3 separate regions of the Homo sapiens genome follow, and all the other regions are linked to region 1. The links are contacts of gene promoters, found by promoter capture Hi-C in human tissues and cell types (Jung and others, 2019). All regions are on one chromosome and are shown on one strand. The core of a region is centred on a gene start or on the middle of the fragment in contact, and the rest is flanking DNA. Distances in the headings are between cores, read along the strand shown.

Region 1 (3,083 bases), core at 360-2,859:
CTGGGAATGCACAGGCCAAAGCTCAGACACACGCCCATCCCAGCAAGGCAGAAAGAAAAAAATACCCCTTTCCAGGCAGCCTGGTTACCCTGATGCGAACTGCAAACTATGAAGACTGCTGCTGAGGCGGGAAAATCTTAGGGGAGGGGCAGGCTGCTCGGTGGATCCAACCACTTATCCTTTGTCTACCTGTAAGTCTAAAATTCTGCTCCATGGCCGGGCATGGTGGCTCACGCCTGTAATCCCAGCACTTTGGGAGGCCCAGGCAGGTGGATCACCTGAGGTGAGGAGTTTGAGACCCGCCTGGCCAACATGACAAAACTCCATCTCTACTAAAAATGCAAAAATTAGCCGGGCTTGGTGGCATGCACCTGTAGTTCCAGTTACTCGGGAGGCTGAGGAAGGAGAATCGCTTGAACCCAGGAGGCAGAGGTTGCAGTGAGTTGAGATCACGCCAGATCACTCTAGCCTGGGCAACAGAGCGAGATTCCATCTAAAAATAAATAAATAAAATAAAAATAAAATTCCGTTCCATCCCAATTTTCCCTCCCCAGGTGCAAATTCGACACCCTATCCCAGGCCAGGCAGAGCCCCTGCTGGGTGTAGCTCAGACAGACCCTACACTCACCCAGCTTGGGGCCCAGGCCTGTCTGCTAACTCACCTTTCTCACAGAGCCCTTTAGTGAAGAAGTTGCACACAGCTGAGGCCGACTCTGGAAGGAGAAGAGGGAACGGAGAAGGTAGCTTCCCCAGAGGCTGCAGCTGTTCCGGAAGCCTCCACCTCCATCGGCATGTCCCACCTAGACCTCCCCCAGGCTCTGGCCTATGGGATCCCAAATCTGGGCCCTGTAGAGGTTAACCTGCAGAGCCAGCCAGCAGACCTCAACCCTTAACCCCCCAACTCTGAAACAGAGGAGCTCGAGGGGCTCAAGCCTGGCCCAGGAGCTCGGGAGGCCAGTGTGGCTTCTCTCAATTCACCGTCTCTCTGTGCCTCTCTTTCTCAGTCTGGAAAATGGGTTGCCCCGAAGCCACAGAAGAGAGAGACAGAGAAGGGGCGGTCGCATCAGGGAGTTGAGCAGAGAGGCCTGTAGAGAAGGAAGGGGGAGGGAGGCTGGGCGTGGTGGCTCATGCCTGTAATCCCAGCACTTTGGGAGGCCAAGGCGGGCGGATCACGAGGTCAGGAGATTGAGACCATCCTGGCTAACATGGTGAAACCCGGTCTCTACTAAAAATACAAAAAATCAGCTGGGCGTGGTGGCGGGCGCCTGTAGTCCCAGCTCCTCGGGAGGCTGAGGCAGGAGAATGGCGTGAACCCAGGAGGCAGAGCTTGCAATGAGCCGAGATTGTGCCACTACACTCCAGCCTGGGCTACAGAGCGAGACTCCGTCTCAAAGAAAAAAAAACAGAGAAGGTAGGGGAGGGAAAGTGGCCCCACCCTCACTCACTGTCCATGCCCTGGAAAGGCAGGAGCCCAGTGCCCTTCTGCATCTCGACATCCTTCTCGAAGGCAAAGGTGAACCGCTCTAGCCCCGCAATGACCTCTTGCATCTTCCGTCTCCTGCTGGGGCTGCGGAAGCTGCTGGAACCCAGGCAGGTGGGCCCAATATAGCTCATCAGAGGCCCTTAAGGGGCCAGCGCCCAATGCCTCCCCCTTCACCCCAGGGTGCCAGTGGCCAGGTGACTGCAGGGGACGCTCCAGCCTGGGCTGTACAGGAGCAGGGCCCAGCTGCCTCACCCGGCCCACCCAGTGCAGGGGCAGACACCCCAGGGCCCCTCACCCCCACACTGTGTACACAAGGCTCACTCGGATAGGGAGGGATTCGCAGAGCCCCACAAACTGCTTATCTTTGCATGTTACCGAACACAAACGTGGCGTGCACACAGACATTACCAAACCTGGGCTCATACTTTGTCCATGAAGACACAGCCACAGGTTAGCAAAGAGTTGCACAAACCAACCGCAGCAAGGCTGTTATTCTGCCAGAGCTGGGGGTGGTGGGGGTTTGCAGAGGGAGGGAGCCGTCCCACCTCCCCGCTTCTTCCCATGAGGGAAGGGGTCTCCCTCTGGGGCCCCTGACACCCCTTTTCTGGCCTGAGTGACAAGCCCCGAGTGAGCTCTTCGTGGGAGACAGGGAAAAAGGAATGAAGAGGAGAGGAACTGAAACAGTTGGATGAATGGCGCTTTGTTTACCTCGCACACAATCGCCAGCTTGGCGGGAGGGCGGAACCGACCAAGGCCAGGGCGGCCTCCCAGCCAGGATTCCACAGGGCCACCCAGTGCCACCCCACCCCTGAGAAAGTGCTTTATAAATGAAATCTCTATGCAAATGTTGTTTTATTATTATTACACCACCCCTGCCTGCAGGGCTGGGGACATCTGACAATGCTTTCAAAGGAGCATGTTAGGGCTCTAATTAGACCAGGTTCCCCCTCCCCCTGCTCTGGCCCCAAACTGGCCTTGCCTCTAACTAGAGCTGCTGTTCTCAGTCACATTGGCTTTTAATGCCCATAGAACCAGAACCCATACGCCCTCCTTTCTGGGTGCCCAAACCCAGCAGGGAGAGGTGGGCAGCCCCGCAGGCTCTCAGCTGGGCCAACATGAACTAGCCTGCTGGCTGTTGTTCCCCGTGGCTGTTGCTCCTAGATCTGTTCTTTTGAACTCCAGATCAGAAAAGAAAATAGCTGGAGAGATAGACACCTGGAGCCGAGGTGGGACTGGGAGGAGCAGGGACGAGATCCAAGAGTTTCCAGAAGCTCAGGCCTCTGACTGCATCCTGGGAGAGGCAGAGGGACCCAGCTCCAGGGCTAGAGGGTGGGGCCAAGGGGGTCCCTGGGGTAGAAACCCTGGCTTCTCTTGGCCTTAGTTGTATGCGTTGATTAGTAGTCCCAAGAATGCATTCATCTGTCAACACAGGCTCATTAAAGGCTCACAGAAGCCTGGCAGCGCAGGCAGGACTGATGAGGGAATCAAAGCCCAGGGAGGCCAAGACCACATGGTTTGGGAGGCGCTATGGATGGGGTTCACATCTAGGTCTCTTGATGACTTCCTTCCCTAAACATCCCTGAGCATCTCTGCACTAGGG
Region 2 (2,787 bases), core at 221-2,720, 690 kb after region 1:
CCACACCCTCACGTATTTACACCCTCACACACACATTCCCACATGCCCATGCCCACACACTCACATTCACACACCCTAACACACAATCACAGACACACACACACAAACACACAATCACATATACACATACACACAGACACACACAGAATCATAAACATACACACAGAGACACACAGAATCACATATACACACACATACACACACAGAATCACATATACACAGACACACAATCACATATACACGGAATCACATATACACACAGACACACAATCACATATACACAGAGATACACAATCACAGAGACACATAATCACATATGCACGCAGAATCACATATACACACACAGACACACACAGAATCACATATACACACACAATCACATACACACAGACACAATCATACACACGCAGAGACACACAGAATCACATACACATATACACAGAGACACACACATATACACATACAGAACACACAGAATCACATATATACATACAGACACACAGAATCACATACACACAGAGACACACAGAATCACATAAACACAGACACACACAATCACATATACACACACACAGAATCACATATACATATACACACAGAGACGCACAGGCACACATTCATGCACACATTCACACAGATTCATTCACACACAGACACACCCCCTCACACAAGATCACACCACACGCATGCTCATTCACACACAACACCAACACCCACATTCATTCACAGACTCACAAAACTTACACACATATACGCACACACCATTCACACACTCATGCAAGATACCTTACAAATACACAGACACACGCAGACACAAATACACACATAGACCCCTCACAGATGCACACACCAATGCACACAGGTACACTCATTTGCACACCACACACCCACTTACACACCAATACACATACTGGCACACTCATACACAGACCTATAAACACACAGACCCACCCATACTCAGACATACTCATTTGCATACCCACTCAGCAACACAGACTCACATTCACATACATGACAGAGACAAACTCACACAGGCACACTCACATTCACACAGGCACATTCACACACACCCTATTATGCACATTCTCACAACAGACATGCTTACACACATTCACACAGTCACACACACACACACACACACACACAATCTCGTACTGAAGCCCAGGCAGTGTCTACCAGCTACACAGACATTGTGGACAGTGGAGTGGTGAGAGGTACAGGCGTATTCAGGTCAGGCAGGTGGGATCTGAGCAGAGGCATCATGAGCCCAAGGGCACCTTGGTGGCAAGGACATCACCTATTGTTTCTCTGCATCTTCCCCCTCCCCGCCCAAATCATGCAGCACAGTGCAGGGCACACAGGTTCATCATAAGTGTTTCTTCAATGAGCAGACAGGAGCTACCCAAGCTTCAATGTACGTAAGAATGCATAGTGGCCGCCATTTTACAGGTTGAACTTGGAGCTTCAAAGCAGCCTTGGATAAAACCACTGGGCCATTCTCCAAAAAAGAGAATGGAGAATGTCAACGTCCTTAATTGTCTGCCTGTATTCCATGTACTTCCTGACTTAGAGCCTTGATTGACAAAATCCCCGTTCCAAGAAAATCTCCCTGCATCACCGCAGGCACTGTGTGTTTGGCAAGTAGACTTTCAACTTTGGGTTGTGGCATGAATAAATAAATGACTAAATCAGCAAGCAGTTTTCCCTGCACCTTGGCACAGGTCTGGGTACAATCAAGGCATCAGTCAAGATGGGAGGGTAGTGGGTGGGTGTGGCCTTTAAAAGATGGGAGTTCTGCCTCAGCTCACTACTTAGCCCGGCACAGTGGCTCATGCCTGTAATCCGAGCACTTTGGGAGGCTGAGGTGGGAGAATAATTGAGCCCCTCCAGTCAAGGTTGCAGTGAGCCATGATAGAACAAGATGTTGTCAAAAAAAAAAAAAAAAAAAAAAAGAAAGGAAGAAAAGAAGAAAAGACAGAAAAGAAGGAAGGGACGGGAAGGGGAGGGGAGATCCGAAAAGCAAAAACTAAAAACCTCACTTCTAAGGCACTTTCTGGAATCGTTCCACTCCACTCGGATCTCCCTCTTTATTGGGCATCGTTTTGGTGAGTAATGAATTCAACCTGAGCCCCATTCCTGTGGGAGGTTAGCCATTTCACTTTCCTAGATGTGTGAGTATGTGTGAACCTATCGCCATCACCTCTTCTCCCATTAGTCTGTAATTCCCCCTGAGCAGATCGGGCTGTTTCCATTGAGATTTCTTTGGCAATGATGACACAACTCTGCCAGCAGCAAGTGTCCAGCCAGACACCTGGGTCACCCCCTAGTTGGACGGTGCTGGGGGAAGCTCTGGCATGGGCAGCTCCACCTCGGATGCTTCCTGGAGTAGATGTTCTGGCTGGTGTCCATGGAGATGGAATGGGAGAGGGACTTCCTTAGCCACAGCCACGCATGTCTTCCCCTTTATGGGAAAGTATCTGAGTGCTGGTCATTTTCAGACCCTAGGGAAGTATCTAATTGCCCTCCTGGAGAGCCCCTACTTATAGAGAAGATGGCAAGGCTGTCAGAGAATCCAATGCCACATTTCCCAAAAAAAGGAGGAAAGGCGGGCCCCAAGAGGGCCCTCAGCAGGTACAGAATTGGAACTGCCAGACAGACACGCCTTTTCCCATGCTACAACCTTGGCTGCCATGCCCCTACTCCCCTTACTCCTGCTTCTAGAAGAAAAGGAAGGGAGAAAAATGCAGGAATTTTCCAGAAAGATCCAGAAACTCCCCCAAATTGCCA
Region 3 (3,084 bases), core at 131-2,630, 720 kb before region 1:
AGCCTGGGAAGCCTCCGACCTACATTCAGATGCCTAGGGGTTCTGGGAGGGGCGCTCAAAGCTCAGAGGCCTGAATTCAGCACCCTGCTCAGGCTCTTTGAGAACCGCTGACTTGAAGTGGGCCTGCTCGCTTTGCTAAACAAATATGGGTAACTCTGGTCTTCCAAAAAGAGCTCACAATTCTGTCCTCCCTGGAAGCTACAATTCAATCATCCTCTTCCAAACGTCCAAATCCCAGCTTCAGTGAGGCTATCTCACACAGCAACCTGCCTGGGAGTGACCTGCATGCAAAACTTCAAGAGTTTGAGGGAAACTTGAGGGAAACTTGCAGAAACCAGCTTGCCAAGGAAAAACGCTCCCAGTGCGTTCAATGAAAAAGCAGGCGACCCAGCTAAATGAGTAAACTGACCCAATCGGGGGGATGAAAGGGAACGTATATCTATGCAATGACAATAAATCGTGGAAAGACATATTAAAATACAAAAGCCATTTCTAGACGCAAAATCATGGATGTGTTTTATTTGCTTCTTTGTGTTTTCTGGTATTTTTACAAAACTGCACTGCAGAATGTTTGGAATCAGATGAAAAGTTCATTTCTGAGAAGCCTCCTTCTTTTCTCTTTTAAATTTTCTTCTTTTGCATTCCATTTTGGCCAGCTCGCTTGAACTCTGCGTTCAAACGCCTTTCTCTCCCAAGCAAAAGCTCCAGGAGGAATCTTCTGGAGCAAAGTTAGAACCGCAGGGAAGCTTGAAAAGAGGAAACAGACCAGCCTGGCCGGTGGAGGTTAAATTAAACTACAGTTCTCTAGCAGGCCTCGGGCTTGGTCAGGAGCTATTGGTAAGACGGCAGAAACGGAGTACAGGCCAATAAACAAATCAAAACAAAAACAAGAAGCAAAGAAAGAAAGAAACATGTTTTAAGAAGAATAAAGTCATTAGGTGGCAAGGGGCCTCTGCAGGACCATCCAGGCCAGGGAGAAAAACACCACCAAGGACCCAAACTTCTTTCACTGGGGAGCTGCAAGCAGGAGGCGCTGGCTCTGAGCAGTGGCTTTGTGCTTCGGGCAGAACCGGCCGCGAGGGCTGCGCCCCACCAGCCGCGCGCCGGGAGGGCGGACGCGCCGGGCACAGCCAGGCGCCGGGGGTGACCGCGGCAGCACCGGCCCGGCGGCTGGAAGCAGACGCGCCGCTCCGCCCGCGCCCGCGCCCGGTGGAGCCACAGCGCCATCAAGTGGCCACTCGGCGAACGGCCGCACGGGGAAGCGGCTCAGGCCCAGGGAAGAGGTCCAGGGTTCCCAGCCGCAACTGTCCCTGGGGAAGGGTCTGGACCTGCCAAGCTGCCACTCCAGGGCCTGAGGCAGGAGCCTGCAGACGGACACCAGCTGTCCAGGCGCACTCCACCACCCAGGGCTGCCCCAGAGGATGTTCGGGAATCCTGTCTCCTCCTTCGGGAGAGAGGTTACTTTTGCAGTCCCAGGCCCATTCTCTTCTCCAGCAACTTGCTCACAGTTTAAAAGGTTTGGTTCTCAGAGAGTGGCGCCAGAGCAAAGGGGGCATCTCGCTGCTCTGGGGCATCCTGCAGGGGATGGCGCAGATCTGGGGTCCATGTCTGTGAGCGGACACCATTGGAACATGTGTCTAGAGAATCTGGGCGGGATCACTGCCCACAGCCCTTCAAGGCCCACAAACCTACAACACATCTCTCCTGGAAACAGCACGTGATCCCATATGCCCCCTGGTCTTTGGGTACAAATTATGGGGTGACTCAAGAAGAGAGCACGTGATATGGTTTGGCTGTTTGTTCCCTCCAAATCTCATACTGAAATGTGATCTCCGGTGTTGGAGGTGGGCCTAGTGGGAGGTGTTCGGATCATGGGGGTGGATTCCTCATGAATGGTTTGGTGCTATCTTCACAGTAACGAGTGAGTTCTCACTAGAACAGTTCATGTGAGCTTGGCATGGTGGCTCACACCTGTAATCCCAGTACTTTGGGAGGCCACGTCAGGTGGATCCCTGGAGGTCAGAAGTTCGAAACCAGCCTGGCCAACATGGTGAAACCCCATCTCTATTAAAAATACAAAAAAATTAGTTGGGCGCGGTGGCACGCACCTGTAGTCCCAGCTACTCGAGAGGCTTGAGGCAGGAGAACTGGTTGAACTTGGGAGATAGAGGTTGCAGTGAGCCAAGACTGTGCCGCTGCACTCTAGCCTGGGTGACAGAGCAAGACTCCATCTCAAAAAAAAAAAAAAAAAAAGAAAGAAAGAAAAGAGTTCATGTGAGATGTGATTGTTTAAAAGGGCCTGGTACCTTCCCCCATCTCTTGCTTTCCCTCTTGCCATGTAACATGCTGGTTCCCGTTTACCTTCTGCCATGATTGGAAGCTTCCTGGGGCCTCACCGGAAGCCAAGCAGATGCCAGGGCCATGCTTCCTGTACAGCCTGCTGAACCCTGAGCCAAATAAACCTCTTTTCATTACAAACTACCTAGGCTCAGATAGTCCTTTATAGCAATGCAAATGGACTAACACACCCCATGATCTCCATCCACAAACCACTGGAGGAACCCAACACAGCAACGGAAAAGTTCTCAGAGCACCAATCAGGAATATGCATATTAATATGAACACTATAACAGGAAATTACAGGAAAAGCATAGAGCGTTTGCTCTGTGCAAAGCACTGTGCGAATTCCTTCTGTACTTTATCTTCTTTAACCTTTACCACGACCTTAGGACATGAGTTTTTTATGATGTTTGTTTGTTTGTTTGTTTGTTTTTTACAGAAAAGGAAATGGAAGCACCCAGAGGTCCAAAAACTCACTCAAGGTTGCCTGGCCTGGAGTCAGAGCCTGAGAGCCAGCTCCTTCACTTACACTCCTTGATCCCATCTTTCCATCCATCCCCCAACCCCCAGCCGTAGGTGGATCCAGGTTTTGTGAGACCTGAAACATACATGTTTTCTAGAGGGAGAGGCAGCCTCTTTAAGATATGAAGTTGTAAATACACAGTTGAGGCCAGTCAGGGAGGGCTGTGTAGGGGAGGGGCTCTGCCTCATCTCCACAGTAGATCCACCCCTGCTCTTTAGACA

The links. Contacts are between HindIII fragments. The study calls those that stand out against the background at their distance.
Region 2: a fragment that was not itself captured here is called in contact with the fragment with the promoter of CPSF4L in region 1 in 1 of the 25 tissues and cell types used here (hippocampus).
Region 3: a fragment that was not itself captured here is called in contact with the fragment with the promoter of CPSF4L in region 1 in 1 of the 25 tissues and cell types used here (dorsolateral prefrontal cortex).

What each region holds. Positions count from the first base shown.
Region 1 is chr17:73,260,271-73,263,353 of GRCh38, forward strand. CPSF4L (cleavage and polyadenylation specific factor 4 like) reads right to left here and starts at 1,610. Exons shown (of 6, transcript NM_001129885.1): 1 at 1,446-1,610; 2 at 663-713. The coding sequence starts at 1,548. The HindIII fragment of the contact is 16,084 bases long and covers 1-3,083 here.
Region 2 is chr17:73,953,476-73,956,262 of GRCh38, forward strand. No RefSeq gene overlaps it. Among named protein-coding and RNA genes, the nearest start is that of LINC00469, 130 kb to the left of the region's middle. The HindIII fragment of the contact is 4,278 bases long and covers 1-2,787 here.
Region 3 is chr17:72,539,284-72,542,367 of GRCh38, forward strand. All of the region lies in intron 1 of LINC00673 (long intergenic non-protein coding RNA 673), which reads right to left. Among named protein-coding and RNA genes, the nearest start is that of LINC00673, 52 kb to the right of the region's middle. RefSeq lists a silencer at 1,070-1,319. The HindIII fragment of the contact is 3,812 bases long and covers 1-3,084 here.